Regions from separate parts of the Homo sapiens genome. Here regions 2 and 3 are each linked to region 1. The links are contacts of gene promoters, found by promoter capture Hi-C in blood cells and fetal thymus (Javierre and others, 2016). All regions are on one chromosome and are shown on one strand. Each heading gives the region's core, a stretch centred on a gene start or on the middle of the fragment in contact. The rest is flanking DNA. Distances are from core to core; before and after follow the strand shown. Region 1 holds the start of HHIPL1 (HHIP like 1). Region 2 overlaps EML1 (EMAP like 1). Region 3 overlaps EML1 (EMAP like 1).

The links. The method cuts DNA at HindIII sites, captures the fragments that hold promoters and counts their contacts. A CHiCAGO score of 5 or more calls a contact.
Region 2: a contact is called between a fragment that was not itself captured here and the fragment with the promoter of HHIPL1 in region 1, in 2 of 17 cell types (endothelial precursors and erythroblasts). The highest score is 6.0, in endothelial precursors.
Region 3: a fragment that was not itself captured here is called in contact with the fragment with the promoter of HHIPL1 in region 1 in 1 of 17 cell types (endothelial precursors); the score reaches 8.5 in endothelial precursors.

Annotation. Positions count from the first base shown.
Region 1 is chr14:99,643,524-99,646,618 of GRCh38, forward strand. It overlaps HHIPL1 (HHIP like 1), which reads left to right and starts at 1,606. Exons shown (of 9, transcript NM_001127258.3): 1 at 1,606-1,939. The coding sequence starts at 1,685. The HindIII fragment of the contact is 13,444 bases long and covers 1-3,095 here.
Region 2 is chr14:99,937,926-99,941,020 of GRCh38, forward strand. EML1 (EMAP like 1) reads left to right here. Exons shown (of 22, transcript NM_004434.3): 21 at 1,272-1,402; 22 at 2,062-3,095. The coding sequence ends at 2,187. Among named protein-coding and RNA genes, the nearest start is that of EVL, 130 kb to the right of the region's middle. RefSeq lists an enhancer at 1,133-2,332. The HindIII fragment of the contact is 1,007 bases long and covers 1,028-2,034 here.
Region 3 is chr14:99,915,445-99,918,539 of GRCh38, forward strand. EML1 (EMAP like 1) reads left to right here. Exons shown (of 22, transcript NM_004434.3): 16 at 2,338-2,405. Among named protein-coding and RNA genes, the nearest start is that of EML1, 120 kb to the left of the region's middle. The HindIII fragment of the contact is 1,580 bases long and covers 859-2,438 here.

The DNA of each region.
Region 1 (3,095 bases), core at 356-2,855:
TGGCCCAGGCTCTGTGTCACTTCCACCTCTGTACACTCATCTGGAGCCCTGTGTTGATGTGTGACTATCACCCAGTTCTGAGTCCCAGCTGGGAAGTAGGCGCCATCGTGCCCTCCGATTCCATCCTGGCTCTGCCTATTCCCAGCTGTCTGTGCAGGAAGCCGTTGCAGGCCGCATTTCCCACCCTAGCAGCCCTCTGCTAGGTTCAGCCAATGAAAGCCACAGGTGGGAGTTGGAGGGGAAGTGGCAGGGAGAAGCCGGGGTATTTCTCCTCCTCTGTCTGTGCAGAATCTCTGACAGTGGCTATCTCCAGCTGTGGCCAGACAGGCCTTGTGAGGGTCCAGCTTTGACAAGGTGACCATAGCTCCTTGGCTCCAGTAACATCTGCTCTTCCTGCATCAAGGACCTGGGGACTGTTCCTACTGTTGCTGATCTCAAGGTTACTTCACTGAGCCCTGTATGGCTTCTTAGCCTCTTTGGCTTCAAGTCCCTGCGTTAAATTCCCCGTGTTTCAAATACTCAGAGATGTTTGGCTGTGCGGAGACCCTGACTCTTACACTGCACCTGTTCAGGCCAGAGCCACAGACCTCTGAGTGCTCCAGCCCTGCCGCATCTCATCCACCCCCAGCTCTGCCAGGAGCATGGGCCCAAAGACAGAAACATGATCCCCCAGGACAGTCCAAAGAGACCTGCAGAGGACGGATGTGTGCGTTGGGGCCATGAAGATGGAGTAGGAGCTCACTGGACAGAGAAGATGGGGAAGGACACTCCAGGGAGAAGCAAACGCTGAGGTCCACTTGAGAAAAATGCCTGGGTGGTTTTGGTGCTGTGAGATTCTAGGGTAGGTGAGACAGTGTGTGTGTGTTTGTCTGTGTGGGTGGTTTTGGTGCCATGAGATTCTGGGGTAGGTAAGACAGCGTGTGTGCGTCTGTATGTGTGTGGGGGGGTGGGGCGGGGTTGGGTCTGAATCTCCAGCGGGGGCAGCGGAACAAAGGGCTGGATGCCCATCCCAGGAGGTAGATTCATCAGTGCTCCCTATGCGAGAGTGGAAGTGGGGAGCCCCAGTGGGTCCTGGGCTGCAGGAGAATCCGCTGCCCCAGGAGCAGAGACTGGGAAGAAGCCCACAGTAAGGGCAAAGGGTGGACTGCGGAGACTGCTCCGTCCTCCCTCCCCACCCCTACGCCAGGTTTCACTTCTCCCTGAGAGTCCTGGGGCAACACCCCCTGTTCTTTCCCTCGCACCCCCATTTTTAAAATGTTACGTGGGAGCTTTCGGGGACGGGCTGCGGGCATCCGTTTCCCTAGCCCAGTGGGAGGTGGAACCGAAGCCCAGGAGTCCAGGCCTCTGGCCCTGCGCCTCCCTGGCTAAAGAGCGCCCTGTGGGGAGGAAGCAGGGCCCCAGGCGGAACCGGGAAAACACACCGGGGCTTTAAACAGACCGGGCCACTCCCATCGAATTTGGAAAGCGGTTAAAAGAGGTCGTGCCGCATTCTGCGCCGCGTCCCTCTTCCTTCAGTCCCGCCGAGTGTCCCCGACCAGAGGTGACCTCCTAGAAGGGGAGGTCCCCAAACTCGAGGCCCTGCGTGTAGGGAAGGGGAGCGCCCGCCCCTTCCCTGCCGCCGCGAGCGCCCCGGGAGGGGACCGGGGCTGCCGTCCCTCCGCCTCTTCCCCCGCGGGGCGTAGCGATGGCCCGGGCCAGGGCCGGGGCGCTGCTGGCGCTTTGGGTGCTCGGGGCCGCCGCGCATCCGCAGTGCCTGGACTTCAGGCCGCCCTTCCGGCCGACGCAGCCGCTGCGCCTCTGCGCGCAGTACTCGGACTTCGGCTGCTGCGATGAGGGGCGCGACGCCGAGCTGACCCGCCGCTTCTGGGCCCTGGCGAGCCGCGTGGACGCCGCCGAGTGGGCCGCGTGCGCCGGCTACGCGAGGGACCTGCTGTGCCAGGTGAGCGGGCGCGCGGCCACCGGGCGGGGCGGGGCGCGGGAGGCCGAGTCCTGGAGCAGAGATCGGAACCCCGCGGGGGCGAGGGCCAAGAGTGGGCGGCGGACTCGGGAACTCTAAGCCCCAACAGGGAGTCATTTGGCACGGGGCGGGGAGACCGCGCATCCCAGGACGACTCTTGGCTTTGCCATTCATTAGTTTTGTGACTTGGGCCTTCTCGGGGCCTCAGTTTCCCCTCCTGAAGCAGGAAGGACGGACGGACGGACAGATGATGTCATCATTTCCTCAGAGGTTGGGGGCTCTTCTGCCCCAGTCCCCTGGAGTCGACCCCTCAGCGTCCCACCCCGAGCAGCTGCACCCTTGTCGGGGTACCAAGGTGGAGAGGCATCTGTCCCGGTCAGTGCTCCTTTGTGTTGTCCCCGGGGCAGTGAAAGCAGGGGGCCCTGGCGTGGGCGTGGTCAACGTGTGGCCCGGGTTTGTTGAGGGGGTTGGGGCCACTGTCCCCCACGAGCGTCTCACCCCCATCCTGATGCCCTTGCCACTTCCGCCACCACCTCTGTGGGTGCTGTGCCCTCTCCTGGGGATGGCGCCCTGGCCTGCAGAAGCTCTCTCAAGACTGAGCGACAGCTCTTTGTTGAAGCCCCTGGGCCCCCCATCTTCCCTCTGAGGGTGGAGCCCCTGCTTCTGTGCACACCTGGTGGTGCCACCGCTATTTGTTTTCCTCTTGTGGGAGTCTGAGGCCCCAGGGCCTGACCACACCCAAGTGGGCAAATGTTGCCTGGCTGAATGCAGAAATGGAGCAGGACGGGCAGCCCCAAGGCATTCCTGCCTCAGCATCTGGGCAGTGAGAGGCCTGGGGTGGAGAGGCCCCAGGGGCCAGGGCCGTGTCCCAGCCTTCGGCCAGCAGGGGCAGGTGGTGTGGGGAAGGGCAAGAAGGCTGACTTGGAGTTGGAGTTTGATCCTGGCTCTGTCACTTCCCCAGCTTCGTGACCTGGGCAGGTCACTGCTGCACCTCACAATATCTTTAAAATGAAGCTGAGTATGGTGGCTTATGCCTGTAATCCCAGCACTTTGGGAGGCCAAGGTGGGCAGATCACTTGAGGTCAGGAGTTCGAGACCAGCCTGGCCAACATGGCGAAACTCCATCTCTACAAAAATA
Region 2 (3,095 bases), core at 281-2,780, 290 kb after region 1:
AGATTTCACTGGTTCCAACAAAAGAGTGTCTCCTTTTAAAATATTTCTTCAGTTGCTACGGAGTCTCATGGTCACCAGTCTTGTCAGATTGCTCGGCTGCTACGGGAGGCCCATGAGACACACCTCCTGCCGCACCCTGGGGTAGGGCCTGGGCTTGCCTGGCCGTGGCCCACTGAGAAGAACCAGAGAGATGGGTTTTTAACCCTTCTCCACTGTACAGGGCAGCAGGTCCTAAGATAATTCCCTGGAACCCTCTCCTATCAGGTTGTGCCACATGGACCTAGGTGGACCAGATGGCACTCAGTCAACTTACCATTTGTGAGGGTTATTATTTATATATTTTTTGTTCTTAAACTAAAAATTTCACTTTCTTCAACATTCACTTTAGGAATATTTTCATAAGTGAACTAAATTAAAGGGCTGCAAATTAATAGAATTTTTAAAGATAGTGTTTATTGTCTCTTTACGTAAGACTACAAGTCTTGTGAGAATTTGCAGTTTTGTGGTGTTCAGTGCTGAGGTCCGGAGGTTCACTCCAGAGCTCCCAGTCGAAAACCCAACGTGCATCCAGCCCTCTCCTAGCCACAGGTATTGTTGAAAGGGTTTCCCCGACAATGGTCAGAAGAGGGCGTCCCCCACCCACCCATTCTCCAGGCCCACCTGGGCTCACCCGACAATGGTCAGAAGAGGGTGTCCCCCACCCACCCATTCTCCAGGCCCACCTGGGCTCAGGGATGCAGAGCCTGGAGCCAGTAATGATGGGCACAGCTGCCAGGCTGCCCCAAGCAAGCAACAGCCACAGTGAGTGACCCCAAGAAACATGCGCACACCCAGGGTTAAAAGGCCTTTGGAGAGACCCACCCATGTAGAGTTACAGCAATAACAAGGAAACTGCAGGCTTGAGGACAGGGCAGCTTCCCACAAGATGCTTCAGAGATCAAGGAGAGGTGTCACTTTGGAACTGGGGTTCCTGGTACTGTCTGCCTTGGCCTCAAGATGAGGCCTCAAAAGACCTGGCAGCCCGGAAAGCTTGTCTTTGCTCCCCTTGCACAGCAGAGCATCAGAGGGTCTCCGAGACTGGCCTGAGTGAGAGGAGACTGGGCGCACAGCGAGAGGCCAGGAACTGAGGCTATTGTGCTTTTTTGACCCTTGTTTCTAAAGCTGGACTTCAGGCAGTTTCATGTTCAGGACCGTTCAGTGGGCGCTTCCTGCGCCATGTGGCCCTGTGGCCCCTGGTGTTTCCAGCGCCCTGTTTGTGGTCTTTGTTTTAGGAGTGTGGCCAGAAGGCTCGGACGGAACCGACATCAATGCCGTCTGTCGGGCCCATGAGAAGAAACTCCTGTCAACAGGCGACGACTTTGGCAAAGTGCACCTCTTCTCATACCCCTGCTCGCAGTTCAGGGTAAAGGACTTGTTTCTTCACTAATCTTATCCCCCATGGGGCATGCACGTACACCCGACCTGTTTGGAGACTAAGTGGAAATGGGCTGTGAGCGACTGCTGCCAGCCACAAAGGCAGATGTGACTCTGTTCTTTGCGCCCTGAGCACTTCCAGCCGCCCTTAGGGAAACCCCAAGCCCCACAGGACCCACAAAGCCGTTCAGAGCTGCTCATCCACCTCTGCAGCCCCACAGGCTCACGACCCCGCCCTCCCCCACGGCTCCCTTGCTCCGGCCCTGCTCAGCCGCGCCAGCCCTGAGCCCTGGGACGCCCTTCTTCATCCTCCGTGATCCTGACCCTGGAGACCCCTCACCCTCAGCCCCGGGCATCTGGTTAGGCCCACCTTTGGGGCGACCTCATACCTGGCACCTCTGATACTGAGCATATCTCTCGGCTGAGGGCGGTCATTTGCTCGTGTCTGTCCCCTACCAGGCCACGAGGACTGTGGGCTTTGTTTCTGTGTCCCTTCTGTGTCACACACAGAGCAGGTTCCCAAGTGAGAGCTGCCGAGCGGAGGGCGAGTAAAGGAATTAAGGCATGCAGTGAGAATTCAAGCACTTTCCCATCCCAGATGGTTCGCCTTGTAGTAAAGGAAGCTTTCCCCCGTATCATTCCCTCCAGGCTCCAAGCCACATCTACGGCGGGCACAGCAGCCATGTCACCAATGTCGATTTCCTCTGTGAAGACAGCCACCTCATCTCCACGGGCGGGAAAGACACAAGCATCATGCAGTGGCGCGTCATTTAGTACCCACCGAGAGCTGTGGGGAGCAGCATGGGCAAGGAAGACACAGACTCGCATTACCCTTGGTCACTGTGATTTCTGTTTTGTTTAAAAAATTCTTACAAACCTCAGGAAAACTGTGCCCTCCGCCGGCTACCTTAGCTTAGCGTGTCAGCGGGCGCCACAGCGGATCAGCGGTTCCGTGTTCACTTTTGTTGTACAATATATGACACAGTGCACATTGAATACCAACAAGGTTGCAACGTTTACATTATAGCCACATCAACAGAAGTAACTGGTATATTCTTAGTAACTTTTCTATGAACTCTTCAAAAATGGTCACAGAATGCCTTTTAAAACATTGTATATAATCTTCACTGTTTCACCATCTAGCTTGCTAAGTCAAATATTTATGATGATAATGAGGTACTGAACCACGATGGCTGTTGAGGAATTGGTCCTAAAAGGACAGATCACTTCAGAAGAGTGAATAACTGATTTGCACAGCTGAATCAGGAGACACAAAGATGAGACTGTGTTTGGTTACATTTTCCAAAGTTTCATTGCATTCTCCCTTGGGGAGGCTGTGAGAGAGGGCTTGTATCCCTCTTGTGCTAAGCAGACTCTACTCCTAACTGACTTCAATATTTCAGCAGGGTACACAGGCGTTTCCAAGTTTCAGTGACACCGTCCTGCCTAACCAGATGCGGTCAGCCTCTTCACACCCACCTGGCTTGCATCCCCCATCCCTTGTTCACACGCCCTGATTCACGGTGAGACATTTTGCCACCTTCTTGTGTATATTACTTGGCATGAGATGATATTGTACTTGTATAGGATTCTAGCAATTCATAATAAATATGTAAGACTAGGCTTTACTGTCTTATGCTTATGGACATTGTATATTTGTATTTTATGACCAAGTAGACCAA
Region 3 (3,095 bases), core at 399-2,898, 270 kb after region 1:
CTGTGAATTTTGCAAAAGAAACTCTGATGACCTGTCAGAGTGTTGAAATGCCCTTTCCCCACGTGTATTACTTGAGCACTGACTGTTTGCATGCCAAGCACTGTGCGTGTATTATCCTTAATCCCTGTAGCAGCTCTGCAGGTTGAAGAGGTTTTTTTTTTAACTCTGATTTTATTGAATAGGAAATTGAGGTGTAGAGAAGTTAAATAACTTGCCAAGGTCACTAAGTTAGTGAGTGACCTAGCTAGTGTTAGAACCCAGCTCAGTCTGACTCCTAAACTCTGGTTCTTTCCACTGCATTGCACTGCAGCGAATCGGAAGCTCATTCTCTGTTGCCGGTGCCCTAATGATCTGTGCAATCCCATTGCACAGAGGAAATAGCCCTTCTGTAAACCAACACATCATCCTTTCATCCCCCATAGAGTTACTGGCATGTCCCAGGTGCTAGGTTCAAGTTTTGGCTCCCTTCCCTTCATTTTCACGGAAGGGGTGCTGGTCACTGGTGGCCAGCTGAGCCGTGAGGTGGAAGGGCCCAAGGGGCAGGCACTGCCACTCAGAGAGCAGGTGTGGCCCGTGATGGCAGGAAAGGGCTAAAGGGAACAGTGTTATATGTTCTACCTATGCCCTGGTGGTCCAGGAGGGCTGAAGGCAATGACAGCTCCTTTACCAGGCTGTTAATCATTTAGCCTAACATAAGGGTTGGAGCTCTAAGCTGGAAGCCAGGGAACTGCAATGAAGTTCTAGCTCCTCTGCCTACTGGCCTTGTGACCTTGGACATCTGTAACTCAGTGTCCACTTCTCAAAATTGTTACGAGGCTTAGATGAATGACACAGACAGAAGTGCTTTGTAAATGGTAAAGCTTCAAGTGAACACGATTTCTGTTTGTGTATTAGTGGCAGCTCTGAGCTTAATTACAGCTCCCACTGTAGAAAGAAAGCATTGAAATAATGTAATCATATATCAAGTTTCTTTCTCTTGGTTTTTTAGATTATCCAGTGGATCTCAGGGCCTCCTATTTTCATTCCCATTGCTACTTTTCTTCCTGATCTTCCTTAATCTCTTCTCTCTTCATCCTAAACACTCCTGCAAAGTGCCCTTTATCTAAAACACATGTTCAATCATGTCACTCTTTTTATTGAAAGGACAAGACCATTCAAAGTGTTCTTATTTCCTAGTGATCAAAGTCCTTACCATGGCAGTGACATCACTAATGTGATATACTCTGTGCTGTAAGCCCATTGACCTATCTGCCACTCCTCAAATATGCCCACAGCTGTGTTGCTTCCATCACTTTTACTATATTACTGCCCCCTTCACCATGGTCCAAAAAACGACTGGAGTGGCCACATCTCACCTTCACCAGTGATAATTCTTCCTCTCCTGGGAGGCCCAAGTCCAGTCGTCTGTACCGCGAAGCCTTGGCCCAGCTTCCCAGTGTCACCTCATCCCTCCCTCCCCTGTGTATCTCTTTCATGGATCTCTTTCATGGATCATTCCATCTTGTATCCGAGTTAGTGATGACTGTGTGTGTGTTCCACTGGATCAAAACCTAGAACATGCCTTGCTCATCTCATGATCCTTCCAGGCCTCCATAGTGTTTTGCACCCAGTGGGCACTCACCCAGTCTCCGTGTCATGGAGTTGGGTGCCGTGGTTGTCTTTCTGGAGCAATCAAGCACACTATTCAGTGAGCTTACCACTCAGCACGGGGAGTCAACTGAAGGGGCTGGGTTCTATAAGCTGTGACTTTGTAGAAGGGCATTTACCTGTCTTTCATCAGATTACTGTAGAAATGAGAGGATGTAAGACAAAAAGGGAAAAATCCTAAAAGGACAGAAATTTAAGTCAGGCTCAATGGCTTACACCTATAATCCCAGCACTTTGGGAGGCAGAGACAGGAGGATCACTTGAGCCCAGGAATTCGAGACCAGCCTGGGCAGCATAGGGAGACTCCATCTCTACAAAATTAAAAATTAAAAAATTAGCCAGGTGTGGTGACACACACCTGTAGTCCCAGCTGCTTCAGAGGCTGAGCCAGGAGTGTCACTTGTGCTGCAATAAGTCATGATCATGCCATTGTACTCCAGCCTGTGCAATAGAGTGAGATCCTGCCTCAAAAAAGGGTGGGGGTAGGTAGAAATTTAGCATTATTGAAACGCAGCATTCATTCAAGCAGGAAAACATTTTTCTCTAGAAAAGAGACTTTTCAAATAGAGCCATATAGCCCTAAGGAATTAGAAGTGTGAGCGTTTGTGTGTGCACGCACTCACGTGTGTGTGTTTTATGCTATAGTGTTCTATCTGTTCATCAATTTACACTTCCTTTAAAATATTTTAGGATCCAGCTCAGTCTTCTGGTTTTCATCCTTCAGGGTCTGTGGTTGCAGTCGGAACACTCACTGGGAGGTAAGTCCATGCCAACAGCGCTTGTGCTTGCAAAGCTTATGGAAAAGAGGCCTGTTGTTTCTATTTCCCCAGGAACAGGCCCCCGTTCAGCTCTTGGCTACATGTTCGAAGCTTCTAATGACTTACCAAGAATTAAGTTAAAAGCGAAACTTGAAACAGTGGCCCATTACATTTTGAGCCTTGGGGAATCTGAGGAAAGCCATAGACCCTCTCTCCTGGAAAAGGACCCTCTACCTCCACTAGACACACACACACTTTTTTTGTTTGTTTTTTGAGACAGGTCTCTCCTTGTCACCCAGACTGAAGTGCAGTGGCACAATCACAGCTTACTGCAGCCTCCAGGGCTTAAGTGATCCTCCCACCTCAGCCTCCCAAGTAGCTGGGACTACAGGCATGCACTGCCATGCTCAACTAATATTTTATCTTTTGTAGAGACGCAGGTCTCACTGTGTTGCCCAGGCTGGTCTTGAGCTCTAGCTCAAGCAGTCCTCCCACCTCGGTCTCCCAAAGTGCTGAGATCACAGGCATGAGGCACCACACCCAGCCACACACACATTTTGCCTACAATCTCGAGGATTTGTGGAGCTTCTCAAGCCCTGATCTTGAGGCTGTGGGAGAAGCCTTGATTTTGGAATGAAGCAAGAAAACATTTCAAAGTGCTGAGCATTTAAAAATGCTTTTTCTACTCCT